Regions from separate parts of the Homo sapiens genome. Here region 2 is linked to region 1. The links are contacts of gene promoters, found by promoter capture Hi-C in blood cells and fetal thymus (Javierre and others, 2016). All regions are on one chromosome and are shown on one strand. Each heading gives the region's core, a stretch centred on a gene start or on the middle of the fragment in contact. The rest is flanking DNA. Distances are from core to core; before and after follow the strand shown. Region 1 holds the start of NUP42 (nucleoporin 42). Region 2 overlaps TRA2A (transformer 2 alpha homolog).

Region 1 (4,982 bases), core at 956-3,455:
AGTCTTTTCTCTGGGCAAACACCTACACACCTATTTTCACAGAGAGATTATACATGGTATTTACATGTGTACAGAATGCATGTAGTTCCTCTACCAGCTTTCCAATATTTCATAAATATCAAAATGAGCCAAAAAGATTCTCTCCTCTCTTTATATATTGGTTTTGTTTTGTTTTTTAAAATCATTTTAGCAATCTCATTTACTCATCACTTCCTAGTTGGGGCCAAGATTAAGGTAATTCATCTTGTTTCTGACTGAATAAAGAGATAAGCCATTAATTATATTAAAAGTTAGAATGACACACATGCCCAGTTGTGAAAGTTCATCCTGCAACTCTAAACTACCCTAAAAAAAAAAAAAAAAAAAGTGGAGATTGCTAGACCAGATCCCTCAAGTAGAAGTTAATGGTATCTTCTTCTTCTAAAGTTCCAAATTCACTGGGGGATGATACAACTGAAGAAACTCACTTCCTCCTTTTTTTTTTTTTTTTTTTTTTTTACATTGCTTTTGGTCTTCATACTTATAATTCCAGAAACATTCATTTGTTTCTGGGAGCTAAATACAATTTGTCTGCCAAATTTTGTTTACACTCACATTCATCAGACATGAGTCCTAATTTTCGGTCTGAAATATTTCACTAGATTAATTGTGGAGGAAATAAAAGGACTGTCTTCCCTGAAGTGGGATCAGACGTGAAACCATCACGCAATACAAGGTTTAAAGGTTAGATGAGGCCCGCCGCGGTCGCTCACGCCTGTAATCCCAGCACTTTGAAAGACGGAAGCGGGAGTATCACCTTAGGTCACGAGTTCGAGACCGGTATGGCCAAAATGGCAAAACCCTGTCTCTACTAAAAATACAAAAATTATCAAGGGCATGGTGGCGGGCACCCGTAATCCCAGCTACTCGGGAGACTGAGGCATAAGAATCGCTTGAGCCTGGGAGGCGGAGGTCGCAGTGAGCCGCCTGACTGAGAGAGCAAGACTCCGTCTCAAAATAAAATAAAAAAATAAAGGTCAGATGAATAGCCCTAAAGGAGGGGAAGGAAGGGAGACAGCACCGAATTATTAACCCGATCTTTAAAAATCTTGTGTTGTTCTAAGGTTTCATGTCTAATCTCTCCTTTCCTTGAAGATAAAAAGCTTTGACAATGATCTAGGCCCAGGGACTAGATCAACGTGGCCCCCGCATCTCCTTTCCTCACCTCCCGGATAGCCCTTAACTGGGCGTCCCACATTCCCAATTTCACCCCAAATTTATGAGCAGGTGCATTTTTGCGGTATGGCTCTATAGGTTTTATTAGATTTTCTTTTTTTCTTTTCTTTCTTTCTTTTTTTTTTTTTGATAGTCTCGCTCTGTCGCCCAGGCTGGAGTGCAGTGGCACGATCTCGGCCCACTGCAACCTCCACCTCCCGGGTTCAAGCGATTCTCCTGTCTCAGCCTCATGAGTAGCTGGGATTACAGGCGCGCGCCACCACGCCCGGCTATTTTTTTTTTTTTTTTTTTTTTTGGTATTTTTAGTAAAGACGGTGTTTCACTATGTTGGTCAGGCTGGTCTCAAACTCCTGACCTCGTGATCCGCCCGCCTCGGCCTCCCAAAGTGCTGGGATTACAGGCGTGAGCCACCGCCCGGCCGGTTTTATTAGATTTTTTCAAAGAAGTCCACGACTTCTCCAAAATGAAGTCCTGATTCTGACCCAAGCTGCTAGCCTCACCCTCGAAAAAACAACTTAGTAAAAATTATATTCAATTCCGGCATTTACCTACAAGGTAGTTTCGATAGGTACTTCCGATTTAAAAACTCAGTTTCGCACAAGCATCCAGGCCCAAACCCAGGTCCTCAGAAGCTCAATAAAAACGGACCACATGAATAATATGTAGATAAAACCCTCGGTTTAAAAACGTTGTGCAGGGCCCAGTAGGGCCGGCAAGGCCGCGACGCGGGCACGTTGGGGTCACCAGCAGCGGGAAACACGCGGGACGCCCGGTCCCCGCCGGCGGACCCTTCCCGGCTCGGTTACCGCGGAGGATTCAGAGGAGAGTCACCTGAAGGCTGCTGCTGCGGTTGCTGCCGTCCTCCTCCTGCACCCCTAGCACCGGGATGTTCGTTCCAGCACCGATCTCCAAAGCGGCACCGGCCTTGAAGGAAGAATTGACAAATGGCCATTGCGACGGCGTCGCTGACGGAGGGCGTCTTCAGTCTGCACCGTTCGATGCCTGTTACTGGGCAGAGAGCCCTAAGGCAACCTCGGCGCCCGGCCGGGCTACTGTGACGTCATCTTCTCGCGCCTGGGAAGGCCTTTTTCCGCCTCTCACCCGGCAGTGCCATGAGACGCATGGACTTGAGCCAATAGGACTTGAGAAGAGCGGACCGCTCTGACGCTTTGAGTGTGTCCTGGGAAGGAGGGATGCTTGAACGGTTACGTGAAGACCGGAGGCGCGTTTGACCCCGGTGCAGGGCCTCGGACTACAGGAAGGCTGGAGGTCCAAAATGAGAGGAAAGCGGAGCAAGCAAACGCAGAACTTCAGCAAGGCCCTCAGAGGAGAATTAGCTATGATTTGAGAGACTGAGTCGTTCTTGCTGAGACGGTAAAACTTAGCTTGGGCTGAGAAAGTAACAAACTGCCTAGCCTTTCATCTGGATGGATAACAGAGTCAAATAAAGCCAGACGACGTTAAGAGGAAACAATGTTTCTTTTAGGACATGCTGCAACGGAAAAGTATTACCACTTAAGTACATTCTTACTACACACTGAGAAACCTTGTTATTTCTTCTTTTTTTTTTTTTTTTTTGAGACGGAGTCTCGCTCTGTCGCCCAGGCTGGAGTACAGTGGCAGAGCTTGGAGGCAAGCTCTGCCTCCAAGGTTCATGCCGTTCTCGTGCCTCAGCCTCCCGAGTAGCTGGGACTACAGGTGCCCGCCACCACGCCCGGCTAATTTTTTTGTATTTTTAGTAGACACGGTTTCACCGTGTTAGCCAGGATGGTCTCTATTTTCTGACCTCGTGATCCGCCCGCGTCCGCCTCCCAAAGTGCTGCGATTACAGGTGTGAGCCACCGCGTCTGGCCGAAACCTTGTTCTTTCAAGTCCACATAAACGTTGCTATTTGAAATTATATCAGAACGAGTGAAAAGTCCCATCCTTGCCTGGAGGATCTAAGTCTCTTTGACGCAGAGAAGCAGCCTCAATTTCTATCCAGGTGTAGAGCTTCAGATAAACGGTTCTGAAAACATTCTGTATTTTCTTAACTTTGCAGTTTCCAAGGAAACATGCCCTACATTCAATTCTCGTCCAGACCTGATGTTAATGCCTTTACACACAGCTATGCTTTGAGATTTCATTTAAATTTCACCTAAACTTCACTCTCCCCGCCAAAACATACAATAACTACCTTTTATTTTGTACGGTGAGACACACCACAGCTCCTCTGGTGTGCAGTCTTCTTGATTGCAATAAGTCAATAGATCTGACTTTGTTGGATTACAGGTTTGTGCTGGTGGTTTTAGGATTATTGAGCTGGGAGTGAGCCATCATTCTTGCTCATGTAATTTGTTTGGATTTTGAAGACAGCAGAATCTACAGGACGGGAACTACTTGTCCAAACTAGTTTTTTATTTTCTTTAATCAATGCAATTCATTTATTTTGAAACAAATTTATGGAAAAGTTACAAATAACAGTACAAAGAACTTTTTTCCTGAACCATTTGAGACTATGTTGCAGACCTAATGCCCCATGATCCAAATACTTATTGTATATTTTCTACAAACAAACCAGGGCATTCTACATAACCACAACACAGCCAACAAAATTAGGACATTGATACTGATGCACTACTACTCTCTAATCCTTAGACTCCATTTATGTTTTGCCAAATGTCCCAATATTGTCCTTTAGAGGAAAAGGGTTCAGTTCGGAATCATTGTTGCTTAGTCATATTTCTTGTGTCTCCTTCAATTTGGAAGATTTTTTGTTTTTCCTTTTCATGACCTTGACACTATTAAAGACTACAGGCTGCTTATACTGTAGAGGTTCCTTAGTGCAGGTCTGTTTGATGTTTTCTCTTGATTAGATTCAGATTATGCATCTTTGTCAGGATTATCACAGAAGTGATGCTGCGGTTTTCACATTGCAGGTTGTGCACAATTTCAATTTGTCCTGTTACCTGTAATGCTCAATGGATTACTTGCTTAAGGTGGTGTCTGCCAAGCTGCTCTACCATAAAGTTATTCTTTTCCTTTTTGTTATTAATAAGAATTTTGTGGGGAGGTACTTTGAAAGTATATAAAAATCTGATTGTTCATCCAACTTTTAGCTCATTCACTTATTTATTTATATCAGTATGGACTCATGATTTCCAATGTTATTCAATGGGTTATAATCCATTACTATCATTATTTATTTTGATGCTCAGATCATCTCCAATTTGGCCAATGGGACCCCCTTTAAGCTCCTTTACACATTCGAAAAAGGAGAAAAAAAAATTCCCCATGATTACTTGAGCACTTTTTTACTTTCTGGTGCAGAGATGTTCCAGGCTCATTTTTACATTCTCTACTCCAGTCCTGAAATCAGTTATTTCTCCAGGGGTCCTTTTGGTGCTGCTTAGAAACCAAGATCTGAGCTTTAATGTGCTTATTGCTACTGGGATGTCTTTGCTGTCATGAACATTGCTGGGAAATACATATGTATAAACAAACACGAACATTTACATCAAACATTTCTATATTTTATATATTAAAACTATTATGCCTTCTATGTCAAAGACTATGAAAAAAAGAAAAAAACTTGAGTTCACACTGATAATCTCCAATTTCAATCCAAAATCACATGATTCATTTTATTTTCCTCTATTTTTAACTCCATTGATAACAAGAAACTTGGCTTTCATTAACCTTAGTATATTTATTTTATTACCACCTTGTGTTAACCAGTATTGCTTTGTAGCCACTGACTTCTCATTCCTGCACATGTCAGCATGTGT
Region 2 (4,376 bases), core at 607-3,106, 320 kb before region 1:
GGAATACTGTTTAGACCCCTTCTCTACCAAGAATTTTTGTTTTAATTAGCCGAGCATGGTGGCACAAACCTGTGGTCCTAGCTACTTAGGAGACTAAGGCTGGAGGATTGCATAAGCCAAGAAGTTTGAGGCCACAGTGAACTATGATCCACTGCCAGCCTGGGCAATGGAGTGAGACCTCCTTTTTTTTTTTTTTTTTTTTTTAATGACCTTTAGTTTATGGGACACTCTTACGGAGAAATATTTGTGGATACATAAAAATTGTGTAGTTTTTATTAGTTTATTATACTTTTATTAGTTCAGTCTCAATAAAAGGTTGAAAGGCATTACGATAAATTTGTTCTTGTCTGTTTATATCATTTCTTCTTGGCTGCTCACTGAGTCTTAATCAGTGTACTAGACTGCAAACTAAAGAATAAGATTGGGGGCAGGTTATAAAAAGAACATGTATAAAGCTTAGCAAACCCTTTTTAATGTTCTGAAGTCAGTCTTTGTAAGTGAAATCGCTGGAGACTAGAAAGTATGAAATGGCAGTCTACCTGGGCAACCTACAAAAAATTTAGCTTGAAAAGACTTCAGTCTCCGCTCCCCTGTTGATCTCATGGAGTGGGGAATGGGAATTGAACCAGAACTGGAAAATTATTTAGGAAAGTTTGTTAACTACTCTTTGTTGATCTCATGGAGTGGGGAATGGGAATTGAACCAGAACTGGAAAATTATTTGGGAAAGTTTATTAACTACTCTTTCTGCTGAGTAAATTTAAATGTGTTCTGGACATTGTTGAGGTCTAGAATTGTCTATACAATGCCCTGTACAAGCTACATTGCTGTCATTTTCAAAATCAGGAGTTTATTTGGATTACATATACTTTGTGCTTAATTTTAAGTAATGATTACTTCAAGACTGGTGAATTATACGTGACTTTTTGTGCCTGTTCTTTATAGGCTATGGAAAGGGCAAATGGAATGGAGCTGGATGGTAGAAGAATTCGGGTGGATTATTCTATAACCAAGAGAGCGCACACACCAACACCAGGCATCTACATGGGCAGACCAACTCAGTAAGAGTTCAAGTTTCCTAAGCTAAACTATGAAATCCACCAGAAATATGTGCAAAATTTTGATTACTCAGAAACTTTTTTCCTATAATTAGAATTGATTCTGGCAAGGGGCAACATGGCAAAACCCTGCTTCTACTAAAAAAAAATAAAAAATCAGCCAGGTGTGGTGGCACATGCCTGTAATCCCAGCTGCTCGGGAGCTGAGGCACAGGAATCACTTGAACTTGGGAGGCAGAGGTTGCAGTGAGCCTGGGCAACAGAGTGAGACTCTTTCTCAAAAAAGAAAAAAAACATAAGTAGGGGTTTTGATAATGTTTTTAAATATACAACCCTCCTGGCTGGCTCACGATGTTCATTTGCCGGGCGCAGTGGCTTACACCTGTAATCCCAGCACTTTGGGAGGCCGAGGCGGGTGGATCACGAGATCACGAGATCGGGACCACGGTGAAACCCCGTCTCTACTAAAAATACAAAAAATTGGCTGGGCATGGTGGCAGGCACCTGTAGTCCCAGCTACTCAGGAGGCTGAGGCAGGAGAATGGCATGAACCCCGGAGGCAGGGCTTGCAGTGAGCCGAGATCGCACCACTGCACTCCAGCCTGGGCGACAGAGCAAGACTCCGTCTCAAAAAATAAAAATAAAATATACAACCAAAGGCAGTATTCACAGAGGTATTTCTTGGGAATAAAAGAAGGAATATAGTCATTCCTTGGTATTCTCTTTGGTGTCCAGAGTTACTTAAAAATTCTTGGTGTTTATTGCCTTTTAGTCACAGGGATACACCTTTTATTCATTTATTTATTTATTTACCAGTCTCATTTAGCAGTAGGAATGCATCTTAGCATTTTTATACTGCTGCTCAACACAGTGCTTCATCGTTTCAATTTGTTGAAAAGATTTTAATTTGGGCAGTGCATTAGTAGAAAAGCAGTTAATAGTTTTGAGAGTTTTGTGAAGCCCTTCTTGATTATGTATGTAGGGAATAAGGCAAACCAGAATACCATGGGAGTCAGTAAAATGAGATACGGAGGCAATTTCTCATGAAAGGGATGTTCTTCCTCACTTTTCTCTTTTTTAAGCCATTCAATTTGTATTAAAGTGTCCTGGAAAATAGTCATTCACACTAATGGAGAATTTTTACATTTTTCTGCAGTAGTGGTGGGGGTGGTGGAGGAGGCGGCGGCGGTGGAGGTGGAGGTGGTGGCAGACGTCGAGATTCTTACTATGATAGAGGATATGATCGTGGGTATGACAGATATGAAGACTATGATTACCGATACAGGTAATGTTTTAACTTGAGCTTTCTGTTCTAAATTAGATGATAGTAGTGTTACTTGGCACTTTTATGTTGGATACATATGAATAAAAACTTGATTTTTAAAATAGATCATATATGACGCCTTTGGGAGCAGAAGTTAGCAGTCTGTATATGTCAGTATTTTGTTGTGCTATATACTTTTCTGGTCTCATTGGCAGAAAGAGAACTTAATATTAAGTAGTTATCACCTTAGGTACATTATTATTTTGAATGATGAGGAATTTTTATTTTCATCTGCCTCAGTGGAGTGATTATATAGTATGCTAAGTAATCTTTCATTTCTTACAGAAGACGATCACCTTCTCCTTATTATAGTCGATATAGATCACGATCAAGATCTCGTTCCTACAGCCCAAGTATGTGAACTTTACTTTTGTAGCATAAAAAACCTCATTTCTAATTAATGGCTTACTTTAGAATATTAGAGTATAAGGTGGAAGGTGGCAGTTAATAGTTGGAAAAATATGAGGCAAATTAAACTATAATTGTTAACTTTTTTTTTTTTTTTTTTTTTTTGCTTTTTCTCTTTTAGGACGCTATTGATAACGGAATGGTTGCAATTAAGGACATTTTTTTTCCTCTTTTTTTTTTTTTTTTTTTTAATTCTGAGATTTCCCCAAGCTGTGGATTCTTCCTACTCCTTAAGAAAAAAACTTTGGTTTATTTAGCATCTACACTTTTGTCAGTTGTGTTGCTGTTTTCCACCCATTTTATTATACTCTTAAAAGATGTAATTGTTGTCATTTTGAACAGTTAAACATCTTGAGTATAAAAAGAACCCCAATGTTATGTTATGCTTTGTAAATTTTTTTTTTTGCTTTTACCTAGATAAACTTCTAGCTAATCAAATAAGGAAAGAAACTGTCTTTTTAAAGCTTCTTTTGTGTTAGATACTGTATTAGAGATCTGCATTTATCATGAGTTCCTTTTTTTTTTTAACTTTATTTTTGGGAAAGTAACACATGAAGTAGTTCAGTCATGTCAGGTTTGTCTGGGGTGGAATGGAACAGTCAGGTAGTTGAAAGTTTTTTTTTAGAGATGAAAAGCTTGTGAACTCCTGTAAAACATGCTGTATTTGAAATACATCTGTTAAAACTTAAAAACTAAAGTGTGATTTTTTTTGTTGTTGTTAAGTTTATTGAAGTTTATTCCCTTAATCAGTGAAGGACAACCCTTATTTATTACCTAGAGCAGTTGTATAATTCGCTGTTAGAAATTTTGGTATTGGGACAGTGGATAAGCAGGTTATCACATAGCATAGAATTCTTAAAAGATACATGTGGGGAAAAGTAGTCTCAAATAAAAGCTAATTTCTTTGAAAATGGGATTGTCTCTTTATTGTGGTACCATGGAGAAATATGATTGAGGAACTGGTCCTTCCTTTTCCCTCACATCCCCCCAGTGTGTATTTATATGAAAGTTTACCCATCCTGAGTTTTAACTTCCCAATATTTCTCATTTTTAAAAATATTTTTTCTTACACTAGAATGTTATTCCTTGTCTTTTCTTTGGTTCTTTTAAAACCCTTGTTTTTCTTCTCTTTTGGGGGAGACCGAATTGTAAATATTGAGAATATTCAGTACCAGCACCATGCTGAAGGAAAGATAGGTAGCTAATACCTTTTTTTTTTTGAGACGGAGTCTTGCTCTGTCACCCAGGCTGGAGTGCAGTGGCGCGATCTCGGCTCACTGCAAGCTCCGCCTCCCGGGTTCACGCCATTCTCCTGCCTCAGCTTCCCGAGTAGCTGGGACTACAGGCGCCCACCACCACGCCCGGCTAATTTTTTGTGTATTTAGTAGAGACGGGGTTTCACGGTGTTAGCCAGGATGGTCTCGATCTCCTGACCTTGTGATCCACATGCCTTGGCCTCCCAGAGTGCTGGGATTACAGACGTGAGCCACTGCACCCGGCCTACTTTTTTTTTTTTTTTTTTTTTTTGGAGACAGAGTCTCGCTCTGTTGCCCAGGCTGGAGTGCAGTGGCGTGATCTCAGTTCACT

The links. Contacts are between HindIII fragments. The CHiCAGO score rates a contact against its expected background, and 5 or more counts as called.
Region 2: a contact is called between a fragment that was not itself captured here and the fragment with the promoter of NUP42 in region 1, in 1 of 17 cell types (erythroblasts). The highest score is 5.2, in erythroblasts.

The regions. Positions count from the first base shown.
Region 1 is chr7:23,179,271-23,184,252 of GRCh38, reverse strand. It overlaps NUP42 (nucleoporin 42), which reads right to left and starts at 2,205. Exons shown (of 7, transcript NM_007342.3): 1 at 2,047-2,205. The coding sequence starts at 2,167. RefSeq lists enhancers at 1,841-1,910, 2,011-2,610. The HindIII fragment of the contact is 4,881 bases long and covers 1,145-4,982 here.
Region 2 is chr7:23,504,104-23,508,479 of GRCh38, reverse strand. TRA2A (transformer 2 alpha homolog) reads left to right here. Exons shown (of 8, transcript NM_013293.5): 5 at 945-1,060; 6 at 2,214-2,342; 7 at 2,667-2,734; 8 at 2,911-3,700. The coding sequence ends at 2,921. Among named protein-coding and RNA genes, the nearest start is that of TRA2A, 26 kb to the left of the region's middle. The HindIII fragment of the contact is 2,798 bases long and covers 458-3,255 here.